Linked DNA regions of Homo sapiens: all the other regions are linked to region 1. The links are contacts of gene promoters, found by promoter capture Hi-C in blood cells and fetal thymus (Javierre and others, 2016). All regions are on one chromosome and are shown on one strand. Each heading gives the region's core, a stretch centred on a gene start or on the middle of the fragment in contact. The rest is flanking DNA. Distances are from core to core; before and after follow the strand shown. Region 1 holds the start of MDFI (MyoD family inhibitor). Region 2 has its middle 57 kb from the start of NCR2. Region 3 has its middle 76 kb from the start of NCR2. Region 4 overlaps LOC112267957 (a long non-coding RNA gene).

Region 1 (2,931 bases), core at 210-2,709:
GGAAGCGGGAGTTGGCTCAGCTCTCCAGAGCTCCCGGACAGCAGCCGGATCCCGGCCGGCTCCTGGGGCACTAGGACAGACCCCCGCGGCTAGCAGCCCGGCCTGGGGGGCGGAACACTCTCTTCTTGTCCCGCCCCACCTTCCTCCGGGCCGCAACCACCCCAGCCCATCGCTGGGACGTGGCCGCGGGTGCCGAGAGCGCTGCCGGCGCCGTGGGGGCCATCCCGGTCCTGGCCCCGACGGCGCCCCAGGACCTGCGATAGCCGTAAGTAGCGACTATGGGGGCTAGGAGAGTCCAAGAAGTGGGGAGCTGGGACGCCCGGCCTCCTGCGTCCCAGCTCTCCACTTCCAGACCCGGCTGGACTCGGGACTAGAAAAGGTGGCCTGGTGCCGCCGCTGCCTTCCAGTGTGCTCACTGGCCCTCGTGGCGGGGAGCCCAGACGCGGCTCCTAGGCGGCCCTAGACAAGTACGGCCGAGACGCTGTCACCCCAGGGGGCTGCCCCACCTGAGCATCATCCCACGGGCCCGCCCAGCCCCACCTGGAGAGCCGCAGGCTCCAAAGTCTTCCCCATTCTCGGGGACCAGGTTCCGGGGTCGCGCTGAGGGCCCCTGAACCCTCTTGGACTGCCTGGCAGCGGCTTCTTCCTACCACCACGGCTCACCATCCAGACGCGCCGCCCGGCTGGCCCCACCGGGAGAGGCTCCCTCCCTCCCCTTTCTCCCCGAACCCTCATCTTAGAAGCCCTCGGATTCAGTCTGGATCCCAAAGAAGGGCTGAATTCGGAGGACCTCTCTTTGCCCCCAAAGTCGGTTTTCTGACACACATTCCCACGCACAGCTGGTAGGGGCAGGAGGGTCGAGGATGCTCTGGGCTGCTGCGGCACAGGGCAGGCTGGTTGGTCACTAACCGGATTTCCCGGACAGACAACTCTGGCGCTGTGGGCGGGTGGCCTGGGAGCCCAGATCCCTGTCCCTGGCTTAGGACCCCGGGAGGAGACCGAGGGGGTGGGTAAAACGTGACTGAGAAACTTGATCGCGCCCATCTTTGGGGCAAAGAGATTTGGAGGCCGCAATTATTCAGACAGTTCCACGAAGTGGTTGAGGTTTCTCTCTTTCTCCTGATTTTCCAGAAACTTTTGCAGAGTTTGGACAGGCAAAGGAAAACGTGCAGCCCGCGGATCTCCGGGCCTCAGAGAGCAGGGAGTCGGGGAGACTGAGGCCCCGCTCCGAGAGCGCGGAGGAAGCGCGCCCAGCCGGCTTCCTGTGGGGGCTCGGGCCTCGGGCGCCCCGCGGACAGACGTGTCCGGCTCCTGGCTGGGCCAAGCCCGGCGCGGGGGAGGGGACCCGCAGAGGGGCGACTGAGAAGGCGAGGAGGGGGCGGGGAGAGGGTGGGCCAGGGAAGAGGGGAGGGGAGAGGCGAGTAGGGGAGGAGCGAGGGGGGCTGGAGGGAGAGAAGGAAGAAGGAAGGGGCGAACGGCGTGAGCTGGCGCCGAAATGGGAGAAAGCAGCGAGTGAGAGGGGAAGGGGCGCCAGGCGAGCACCCGGGAGCCAGCGGGACCTGGGCAGGGGCGCCCGGAGCAGGCGCGCATGGCGGGCCCCGCGCGGGGATCCGGCTGGAAGAGAGCGTAGCACGGCTCGCACGAGTGAGTGGACGTGGGAGGCGCGCATCTGCGGGGGAATCGCCCCTTGCCCGCCTCCGGCGCCGCCCGCTGAGCCCTGTTTTCCGCAGGTCCGGGGCCGATGTACCAGGTGAGCGGCCAGCGCCCCTCTGGCTGCGACGCGCCCTATGGAGCCCCCAGCGCAGCCCCGGGCCCAGGTAGGACCGGGAGTGGCGAGCGAAGCTGGACAGGGGCGGGTGGGCGGCTGAAGGGGCCAGTTATTAGTTCTCCTCTCCGTCCCCAGACGCGGGGAGACCGTTCCAGGGAGCTTGGTGGGGGTAGGGACGAAAAGTCTGGGTTTGAGGACTTGGTCCAAGGAGAGTAGGGGGCTGGGCGAGGGAGGCAGGGCCCTGAACAGAGGCTGCGGCTGCGCCAAGTTGGCTCCAACTCCCCGCAACTCCCGACACCAGACACACACACACACACACACAAACACACACACATACACTCCGCGGTGTCTGTCCGTCTGGGATTTGTGTCTCAACTGTTTCTGCCCAGTGTGTAAATATTTGTGGGGGCCTGGTGTGGGGGAGGGGGCGTTGTCTGAATCTTTCTCTACTTCCCTTCCCCCAGCCCAACCAGAGCCCAGCGCTTCCCGAAAACTTTTGTCTGCCGCGAGCGGCTGCAGGACCCAGCCCCTCCCCTCTTTCTTGCCATCCCTTCTCCCTCGCCTTCCTTCCCTCTCGTGCCGGCCAGTCCCCGCCGCCCCTGCCCTGTGCACACACACGCACCCCAACCCAGTGTCTTCAGCCCAAGTGAAATGCCCCGTCCCGCGCCTGGCGCCGTCTGTAACCTACCCGCGATTCCTGGGGGAGCCTCTCACGCCAAGTACGGTTTGTGACTCCCTGAAGGGGTTTGGAGTAGGGGCCTCGCCGGCCCTGGTTCTCAGTCCCTTCCCCTCACTGGCCAGATGCCTAAGCCGAAGCTCCCAAATGGAAGTCCGGGTCAAGGAGAAGTCAGGAACCTCTGGGATGTGTTCAGGGCCAGGGGAACCGCGTGCAGGAGTGTGGACCCGGATTTCATAATTGGAATCTCCACTGTCTAAGTCGTTGCCTTCCTCCCCACCAGCGCCATTCCCCCTTTCCCCTCTTTGACTCTGAATAATGAAGGTCTGTTCCTGAACCTCTGACACGAACTCCCTGCCTTGCCTTGGACAAGCTCCTTCCCTTCTCTGGCCTGAGCCTCCACATGCGCCCTCGAAGCCGGCCTGCCTGCCTGTTCTAGGAGGCCCCTCTCCACTCCCCACCTACTTGGTATGGACGCCTAGTTGTG
Region 2 (2,931 bases), core at 184-2,683, 250 kb before region 1:
AAAAAGAAAGAGAGAGAGAGAGAGGGAGAGAGGGAGGGAGGGAGGGAAGGAAGGAAGGAAGGGAGGGAGGGAGGGAGGGAGGGAAATAAAGGAAGGAAAAGAAAAGAAAAGACATTGGTGAGAGGGTGAGAGTTACAGAAAGCAGGGAAATGATACAGAAGATTAATAATTAGTATGGCACTGGACTTCTCAAAACTAACAGTAGGGGCTGGGCACAGTGGCTCATGCCTGCAATCCCAGCGCTTTGGGAAGCTGATAACTGGCGGCCAGGAGTTCAAAATCAGCATGGGCAACATAGTGAGTCACCATCACCACAAAAAAAAAAAAAGAAAAAAAATTCAATGGATCAATCTTTGCATTCGGGAGGATATGCTCCCAAGTTAACACAACAGAAGTTTATTTCTGCTCACATAGTAGTCCTGGATGGATGTTCATGTAATAGGCAGGCACTCCTCTGTGAGACCCAAGCTTCTTCCACCTTGAGGCGCAGCCATACCACAGGCCCCCTCCTAACCTTTTTGGGGCCCTGGACCCCTTTAACTATCTGGCAGACCCTTTCTGATAACATTTTTAAATCCATAAAACAAAACACATAGTAGTATAAAGCAAAACAATTATATGGACATATAACTATCAAAATAAATAAAAACCATTGTGATATAGTAATAAATGTGTTTCTGTATTAATTGAATAAATAGTAAGACAAAACATTTAAAACATAAGTGCGTTTAAGCTACGTTTATTTTTTAAAGATATATCATTGTGAAGACTGACTACACTTGTGGCCTGCACACCTCTCAGTATTGAAGAGGGCTAAGAATTCTTATCTGACGGCCTGGTACGGTGGCTCATGCCTGTAATCTTAGCACTGTAGGAGGCCAAGGCAGGTGGATCATGAGGTCAGGAGTTCGAGACCAGCCTGGCCAACATGGCAAAACCCCATCTCTACTAAAAATACAAAAATTAGCCAGGCATGGTGGCGCATACCTGTAATCTCAGCTACTCGGGAGGCTGAGGCAGGAGAATTGCGTGAACCCAGGAGGCAGAGGTTGCAGTGAGCCAAGATCGCACCATTGCACTCCAGCCTGGGTGACAGAGCAAGATTCCATCTCCGAAAATAAATAAATAAATAATTCTTATTTGAATCATCCAGTTTTGCAAACCTCTAACAAACAATGCATCTACCTCCACATATTAATTGACCAACAATTGGAGGCAAGGACTATGGAAAGCAACATAGATTGCGAGCAAATGTGACTTCCACATTTGGTGGTGGAATGCCTCCCCTGCTCAGCATCGGCCAGTTGTGTGGCACAGCTGTCTATCAACAGGAAGACTGCAATTATGTGCAGTCTAGTGGCAGGTCTAATAACTGCCGCGGTTTCTAAGTAGTGATGAATGTAATGATATTTTGAGCTATCTGCAACAACTGTAATGTGATATGAAAATATCTGTGATTTCTACTGGTGACAAAGTCACAGATACTGCTAACACCACTGTGGTTTATTGTCTACATTTATAATAGAAAGAAATGCTCAACTAGTTTAAGGTCAGGAAAAATAAAGATGTACTTTTCCCATCCAAGTTCATAGATTTCCCTGAATTTAGGGTCTGTGGACCACAGGTTATGATGTTTCCTCTGGAGTCTTCTTGTCATATCTGCAGCCAGCCAGTAAAACAGGAAAGAGCACAGAAAACTGCACAGATGAAGTCTTTATGGACCTGTCCTGAAATTGACACATATCATTTCCACTCACATTCCACTGGGGAAAGTTTAGCCCTGTGGCTACACCTCCCTGCAAGGAAAGCTGAGAAATATAACCTTACTTTCATGCTGAGGAAGAAGAAATAACAGATTTGGATGCCCAGCCAGCAGTCTCTCTTCCACGGTCAGTGGTGTGTGTAGCCTTCTTGCCACATGTAGAAGACATCCAGTCCCTTTCCAAGGGAGTCAAAGCAAAACCCCATCTAGCCTCTGCATTCAGCTCAGTGTCCAGAACTTCTAGGTGATGTACAGTCCTTTCCAACAAGTCTGATGGAATTTCTCTTGGTCCACAGACTTACGAACTGTGCTCTACTCCCCACCCCTGCACACACCCAAAATATAGGATAATTGCAATTAAGATTGGGAGACACAGGCAGTGCCTTGTCCATAACAATGATGGAACCCTGCCAGACAAGCATTGTGAAGACCCTCTGCCCTGGCAATAGAGGGGGTTACTGCATTAGACCCTGTATCCTTTCTCTGGGAGGAGTCTCCTTGCCTTCCATGGCCCCTGCTCTGCCCTCTGGGAAATTCTCCCTTGTCTATTATCTCCTGTGGCCAGATCTGAAGGAGTTATTAGTAGTATCCCCCTTTTGGGAGTTCCCACTGCTTTTGTAGCACTTTTGGTTCATGGAAGCTTGAGGGTCCACGTGTTTTTCTGAACTTTTTAAAGACCATCTTTGTGATTTCTTGAGAAATGCAATTTCTTCCTGCAAAAAGATTTCTGATCTATTTGCTTCCCATTGGTTACATGCACCACTTACCACTTCCAAAATTCCCTATACATGGTTCTTAAATCTGTTTGAGTTCTTTTTTGCTTTTTTAGCTCCATGCCAATCCCCATTTGTTAAATATCAGCTACTGTAAGGCCATCTGTAGCAAGAGGATTATTAGAGAGACAATATCCTTAACCTGATCTTTGCTGCAGGAATAAGTCCTTTGGTTTAACTGAGAAGACTTCGTTGGTCTTTATGGCTCAAATACTTATTCAGTGTTACCACCTCCTCTGTGGGGTCTGGAAACTGTTTCTTCAACCCTTGATCTCTGCTTACAAATAGCCCAGTTCTTTCTTGAGCTCTTTTTTTCCTACTGACAACCTGCTAAGTGAATTAAATAACTGGCAACAAACCCCACCCACCTTTCTCCAACCTCTTTCACTATAGGTA
Region 3 (2,931 bases), core at 277-2,776, 230 kb before region 1:
TTAGAGACAGAGATGTAGATGCCATGTCAGAAGCAGCACAGAATGTTAGGGGAGCTCTGAGCAGAACTCCTAAAGCAGGCTGGGAGTAGTCTAGGAGAGCTTCTCAGAGGAGGCAGTGCTTGAACTAGAAGGATGACTAATAGATGTCCTTTACATTTAGTAAGTAACAACAACAATCCTGACTAGAATGCATTGCTATTTGCCTCTGTTCTGTTTTCTTAACTTGCCTGGAATAGGAAGGGCTTGGAATGAAAGTTTCTGGAATATGGGGCTGCAAATACGCAAACCCCAGTGGAGAACAGGGGTGTAGGGGGGGTGTCTGCAGGAGCAGGCAATGAAAAAGTTTGTTGTCTGTAGGGAATTTTAAAACAATAATAAAATCTACTAAAAGTCATGTGCTTTTTCTGTTATCACCATGCGCCAGCCATTTTGTGTCAGTAATAAAATACTCCTCCCTGAAGTAAAAAAAAAAAAAAAACTCGTCTGTTGTGCTATGTTCTAAGCAATTACTGTGGTGACTGTTGAGTTTCAAATTAGCACATTTCTATTACTTATCCTTTAGTAAAGATTGTACACTACCTGATAGTTAATTTGAAGGACTCTCATGTATATAGTCAGCCCAGAATACACAGGACTCAGCTACACTCTTCATTTTGAGATTAAGTTTAAATTCAAATTCATTAGAGCTGGCTTCAGCCACAGTTTGTGTCTCAAATCCTATAGTTCTGCACATCCCTGCCTTTAAACAGTAGATTCAAAATCAACAATGATGCACAGTGATTGCAAAGACAAAGTAACAGACTCAAGCTACTTCAATTCTGTTATTCTCCATGCAAATCATTCTCTGAAACTTGCAGTTTACTCTTTTGGGAGGCTTTCCTTTTTGTTGTTATTCTTTTGTTTTGTTTTGTTTTTGTTTTTGTTTTTGAGACAGGGTCTGGCTCTGTCACCCAGGCTGGAATGCAGTGACACAATCTTGGCTCACGGCAAACTTGGGAGTCTTTCTTCATGTGTTTCTTCCCCCTACTCCCCACCCCCCAAAATTAATATAATTTTCAAGTATCAGTTGCTTTTGTCTTTTTGTACTGTAGTATTTGTTTATTTCCTGATACAATTATACAGAGTTGAATAAAAGAACAGTTACACTGTCTGACTTTTCTGGCCATTATTATTTACTTGTTATTCATCATCATGGTGATAATTTGATAATATGGGAGGTGTTAAAAATGATTTACTAAGGGTGCCTAACACATTAGGTACCCCACTGGTCTGGAAAAAAATGCCAGATCCAGTGAGTGCCCCACAAGGCCACCACTCCCTGGACCCTCGTGGCTGCCTGCTGGGGGCTGGCAGGCGGCCCGATGGGCAATGTGGACCAATGTTTCCCTCTCACCTGCCTTCCCTAGGCTCTTTCCCTGCTAAGTCCCTCCACAGCAGCCCTACCCCATCCACCCCTCATCCTTCTCTTCCCTGTCCTCTCAGCCCAGTCTCAGTTGTGACTGGGTAGGGAAGTCTCTCAGAGGAGCTAAGGTATGACCTCAGGGCTGGCACAGTTCAATGTAGGCCACAGCCTCAGCAGGACCTGAGAATGCATCCTGTTCAAGAGCCTCAGCATATTGGGGAAACTGAGGCCAAAGAGAGGCAATACCCAGCCTAAGATCCCCTAGCCGGTTAGTGGGTCAGGGCAGAGCTGGAACTCATTACTTCTGGCCTGCCTGTCTGTGTCCTTTCATGACACCACTCAGCCGTAACCTAACAAGATGGGCTAATGGGAGAACTTTAGTCATCAGCGGCAGGCCTCCCTGGGTGTTCTTTCTGGCCAGGAGGGCTGTCCTCGCGCCCTTTTCTGGCTCCAGAGTAGCCAAACTCCCAGCCTTGGGCTGCTAATGGTGCTCCTCTTGGCACAAAGGAAGAGGCTGATGGCAATTGACTCATCAAAGACATTTTGGCCCCTACTATTGCCTAGACTTGTGCTATACCCCAGAGACACAGAAATAAATAAGTCACTGCCACTGACTTCAAGAGAATAATCAAGGCATAAAGACTGGGTTTTCGATGTCACATCAGACTCAGCACAGAATGTTCAGGGTGCCCAGAACAGAACTCCTAAAGCAGGCTGGGGGCAGTATGAGAGGGCTTCCCAGAGGAGGCAGTGCTTGGGCTTGAAGGATGCCTAATAAAAGGCTGGCAAAAAGAGGTGGGAGTGTGGGTAGCTTCAGAAGAGGACACTACTCAGGGTGCCAGCTCCCCCTGGAACCTGTGGAGACCTAATCATGCAAGGCACCTTCTGCCAAGCCCTACCCCCTGTCTCAGTCCACCTCAGAACTCACCTCCAAGCAACCCATTCGGGCTTCTCTGATGCCATTGGCCTCCTTGTGCATCCGTCAGTAGGACTGGGCTCCTCTGCAGCTGGCTGTCCTCTGTTCCCTCTCTTAAGCCCCTGGGGTCCCGACCCTTGTGTCTCTTCCTGCCCATCCCCCAGCTTGGTGCAGGTTGGAGCCTTGAGCTCAGGTGGCCTTTCCCTCTTTCCATTCTCTCTTTCCTCTTCCTCTTTTTCTTCTCATTCCTTCATCCTCGGCTTTGTCATTTTCTCTCTCTCCTTGTTCCCCTGTGTAAACTGAGGGCAGGGCCAGGTGTGTGATGGAATTCTCTAGACTAGGTTCCAGGTGACCTATACCCACAGGCATCGGCCTTTCCCTGGGGAGCTGGGGTTAGCACCCAGCCAGACTCTTGGCCTAGAGCTGAGGTTGGAGGCAGGGAGTTGGGGGAGAAAGACAGTGTGACCCAGCATGGTAGGGCTGCCCCTTTTTTTCAAGAAAAGGAGATCCGAGGACTCTTCAAGGCAAAGACCTCGGCTCTCAGCACCTGTGAGTTCTACTTCCAGGAAGCCCCCTTCCCTCTCCACTCCCCCCTTCCCAGTTCTGCTGCTGC
Region 4 (2,931 bases), core at 167-2,666, 180 kb before region 1:
TCTCATCCTGTTCCTCTTTTCCACCAGCATCTTATGCACCAGGCATATGGAACTCAAGTTTCCCAAATGCATGGGGCCCTTCCATGTCACTGCACTTTGCATTTACTCTGCCCTGTATTTGGAAATCCTTCCTGAAGGGTCTCATTCATTCACAAACACTTAATGAACACCTACTGTGTGCCTGACACTGTTCTGAACCCTGGGAACAAAACAGACAAAAATCCTTGTCCTCATGGAGTTTTATATCATGGTGAGGGATAGAGACTAAAACAAAACAAAGAAGTCACCCCTCATATCCACATCTGCATCGTGGATTCAACCAAACATAGACAGAAAATGTAGTTAAGCTTCCAATGGTTGCACCTGTACTGAACATGTATAGACTTTTTTCTTGTTATTATTCCCTAAACAATACAACAACTATTTACATAGCATTTATATTGTATTAGTTATCATAAGTAATCTAAAGATGATTTAAAGTATATGGGAGGATGTGCACAGGTTATGTAGAAATACTATGCCATTTTATATAGGGGACCTGAGGTGCCTGGATTTTGGTATCAGCGAGGAGTCCTGCCCCATGGATGACTATAATACACAACAGTAGGTGCTACCGAGCGCTATGGCCGAAACTGCAGCACGGAAGGCAGGATGAATAGGGCCTTGAGGCCACTGTGATAATTCTGAGTGAAATGGGGAACCATTAGAGGATGCTAAGCAGAGAATGACATGATCTCTCTTAGGTTTTAGGATAATCCCTCTGGCTATCATGTGTGGATAAACTGAAGGGGGACAGATGGGGGCAAGGAGACTAGCAAGCCACACCCTGCTTGTCCTTCAAAGCTCAAGAATGGGCTGGGCATGGTGACTCACACCTGTAATCCCAGCACTTTGGGAGGCTGAGGCAGGCGGATCACCTGAGGTCAAGAGTTCGAGACCAGCCTGGCCCAACATGGTGAAACCCCATCTTTACTAAAGATACAGAAATTAGCCAGGCATGGTGGAGGGCACCTGTAATCCCAGCTACTCAGGAGGCTGAGGCAAGACAATGGCTTGAACCCGGGAAGGGGAGGTTGCAGTGAGCTGAGATCACGCCATTGCACTCCAGCCTGGGTGACAGAGTGAGATCTGTTTCAAGAAAAAATAAATTCATCTAAAAAAAAGCTCAAGAATGATCCCTTGTCTGAGTGAGGCTGCTCCGTCCTGGTCCCTGGATCACCCTTTGCTTACTTATGGACAGCCCTGGCCACACCCTACCATGACTATCTTCATCTCCTCCCTATCTGCACTGTGATCTCTGTTACCCTGGCCCACTACCTGCCCCAGAGCAAACACTCAAGCCCACTGGGAGAATGCATTAGGAATGACTGTCTATGTGACCTATAGGTCCTCTCTGCATTCCCAAAGCGGTGTCACTTCACTGTGACCTGGAGGGGAAAACAGTACAACTAGCTCATTTGAAAAAAAGGGTAAGTGAGTTCTGGGGAGCATTGATAAAGCTCAGTTTCACTGATCTGAAACAGGTGCCTTAGAGTTCCCACTTCCCCACATCTGTCTCTAGCTCAGTGTCCACCTTCTCCAGCCCCAGCCGCCTGGGAGATTCCTGGGGGTAGCCAGGTATGAGAAGGCACCTCCTCCACTGCTTCCTGTTCTCATTTAGGGTGGTCCCTGCTGGCCTTCAGGCCTGGCATTGCCTCCCACTCTGACTCCCTCCCACAGCCTGCCCATCTCCCCTCCCAGGGCTCTGAGGAGGACAGGAGCCCTGCAGAGCAACGATCCACATATCAGGAGCAAGGGAATTAACATTTCCAGGCTGTAATTATACCTTCTGCTGGTGACACCTAAGGAAGCATCTTTTTATAAAAGCAGGTAAATTGAAGGCTTATGGGACTGTGGAAAATGGGTGTATTTTTAGCTCCCTCCCCTCACCACCCTTGATTGCCAGAACCCTGGTAATTGCTCTGGCACCAGTGGTTGGAACCAAGGTGGAGGTCTCAGAGTGGGGTCAAGGGGTCATTGAGAAGGGGATCCAGGAGGCACTGAGAACCTTGCTAAGCCAAGTGGGAACCTAGGAAAGGGGCCTGGGGAAATGCTCTCTGATAGGGAATTACGGGGAAGAGTCGTTCGTGAGCAGGTGGAGAGTACATTTTAAAAATTATATATAGCAATAGTAATAATAGTAACAATAACAATAATAGTAATGATATCTGACCCTTACATCATACTTGTTAAGTGCTAGGCAGTGTTCTAAATGCTTTTTGTAAATTAACTCATTAATCCTCACAACAATCATGTGAAGTAGGCACAGCTATTATCCCCATTTTGCAGATGAGAAAACCAAGGCATACAAAATTTAAGTGTAATTTTGAGTTAGACATTGGAGTTACATATGTGCATCTCTACACACACACAAGTTTGCTGATTTTAATGGGTGAATGAATGAATTCCCTCACTTTGTATTCCCCAGATATTTACAAAGAGGTCTAAAGCTTAGCCAATCAAAAAGCTCTGAACAGTTAGGAAGTCCCTCCCTTTTAAGGTGGGGTCTGATCCCACTTCCTGTTCTCCTCTTAAGATCTTGACATCCCACTGGTGCAAAGTCAACCATCTTGGTTAGTGGGCAGCCCCACCATGTTCTTAAGCACAGAACAGTGGAGCAAGAGGCTGTGATGAGATGCTTTAGGAGCTGACAGCAGGAGCCCTGGAGCTTGCAGGATCTCTGGCCATTTAGGGAACTAGCTGGAAAAGTGGATCTGCTGATATCAGAGAAAATGTGTGGGGAGAGGAGAAGAAGGATGAAATAGGGTCTCCCTAGATGTTGTCCAGTGGTAGCTGCTATCTAGGGACACCCCTTCTTCAAGCAAGGACATCAGCGTAGAAAAGGCTCCAGAGAGGGAGAGGCGGGGAGAAAATGTGATTTTTAATGCAAGC

The links. The method cuts DNA at HindIII sites, captures the fragments that hold promoters and counts their contacts. A CHiCAGO score of 5 or more calls a contact.
Region 2: a contact is called between a fragment that was not itself captured here and the fragment with the promoter of MDFI in region 1, in 10 of 17 cell types (M1 macrophages, naive CD8 T cells, activated CD4 T cells and 7 more). The highest score is 7.6, in M1 macrophages.
Region 3: a contact is called between a fragment that was not itself captured here and the fragment with the promoter of MDFI in region 1, in 1 of 17 cell types (total CD8 T cells). The highest score is 5.1, in total CD8 T cells.
Region 4: a fragment that was not itself captured here is called in contact with the fragment with the promoter of MDFI in region 1 in 1 of 17 cell types (M2 macrophages); the score reaches 5.3 in M2 macrophages.

What each region holds. Positions count from the first base shown.
Region 1 is chr6:41,637,009-41,639,939 of GRCh38, forward strand. It overlaps MDFI (MyoD family inhibitor), which reads left to right and starts at 1,460. Exons shown (of 5, transcript NM_005586.4): 1 at 1,460-1,644; 2 at 1,731-1,817. The coding sequence starts at 1,742. The HindIII fragment of the contact is 14,281 bases long and covers 1-2,931 here.
Region 2 is chr6:41,391,094-41,394,024 of GRCh38, forward strand. No RefSeq gene overlaps it. Among named protein-coding and RNA genes, the nearest start is that of NCR2, 57 kb to the left of the region's middle. The HindIII fragment of the contact is 1,934 bases long and covers 467-2,400 here.
Region 3 is chr6:41,410,365-41,413,295 of GRCh38, forward strand. No RefSeq gene overlaps it. Among named protein-coding and RNA genes, the nearest start is that of NCR2, 76 kb to the left of the region's middle. The HindIII fragment of the contact is 3,762 bases long and covers 1-2,931 here.
Region 4 is chr6:41,458,587-41,461,517 of GRCh38, forward strand. The region is part of intron 2 of LOC112267957 (a long non-coding RNA gene); the gene reads right to left. Among named protein-coding and RNA genes, the nearest start is that of LINC01276, 42 kb to the right of the region's middle. The HindIII fragment of the contact is 2,142 bases long and covers 346-2,487 here.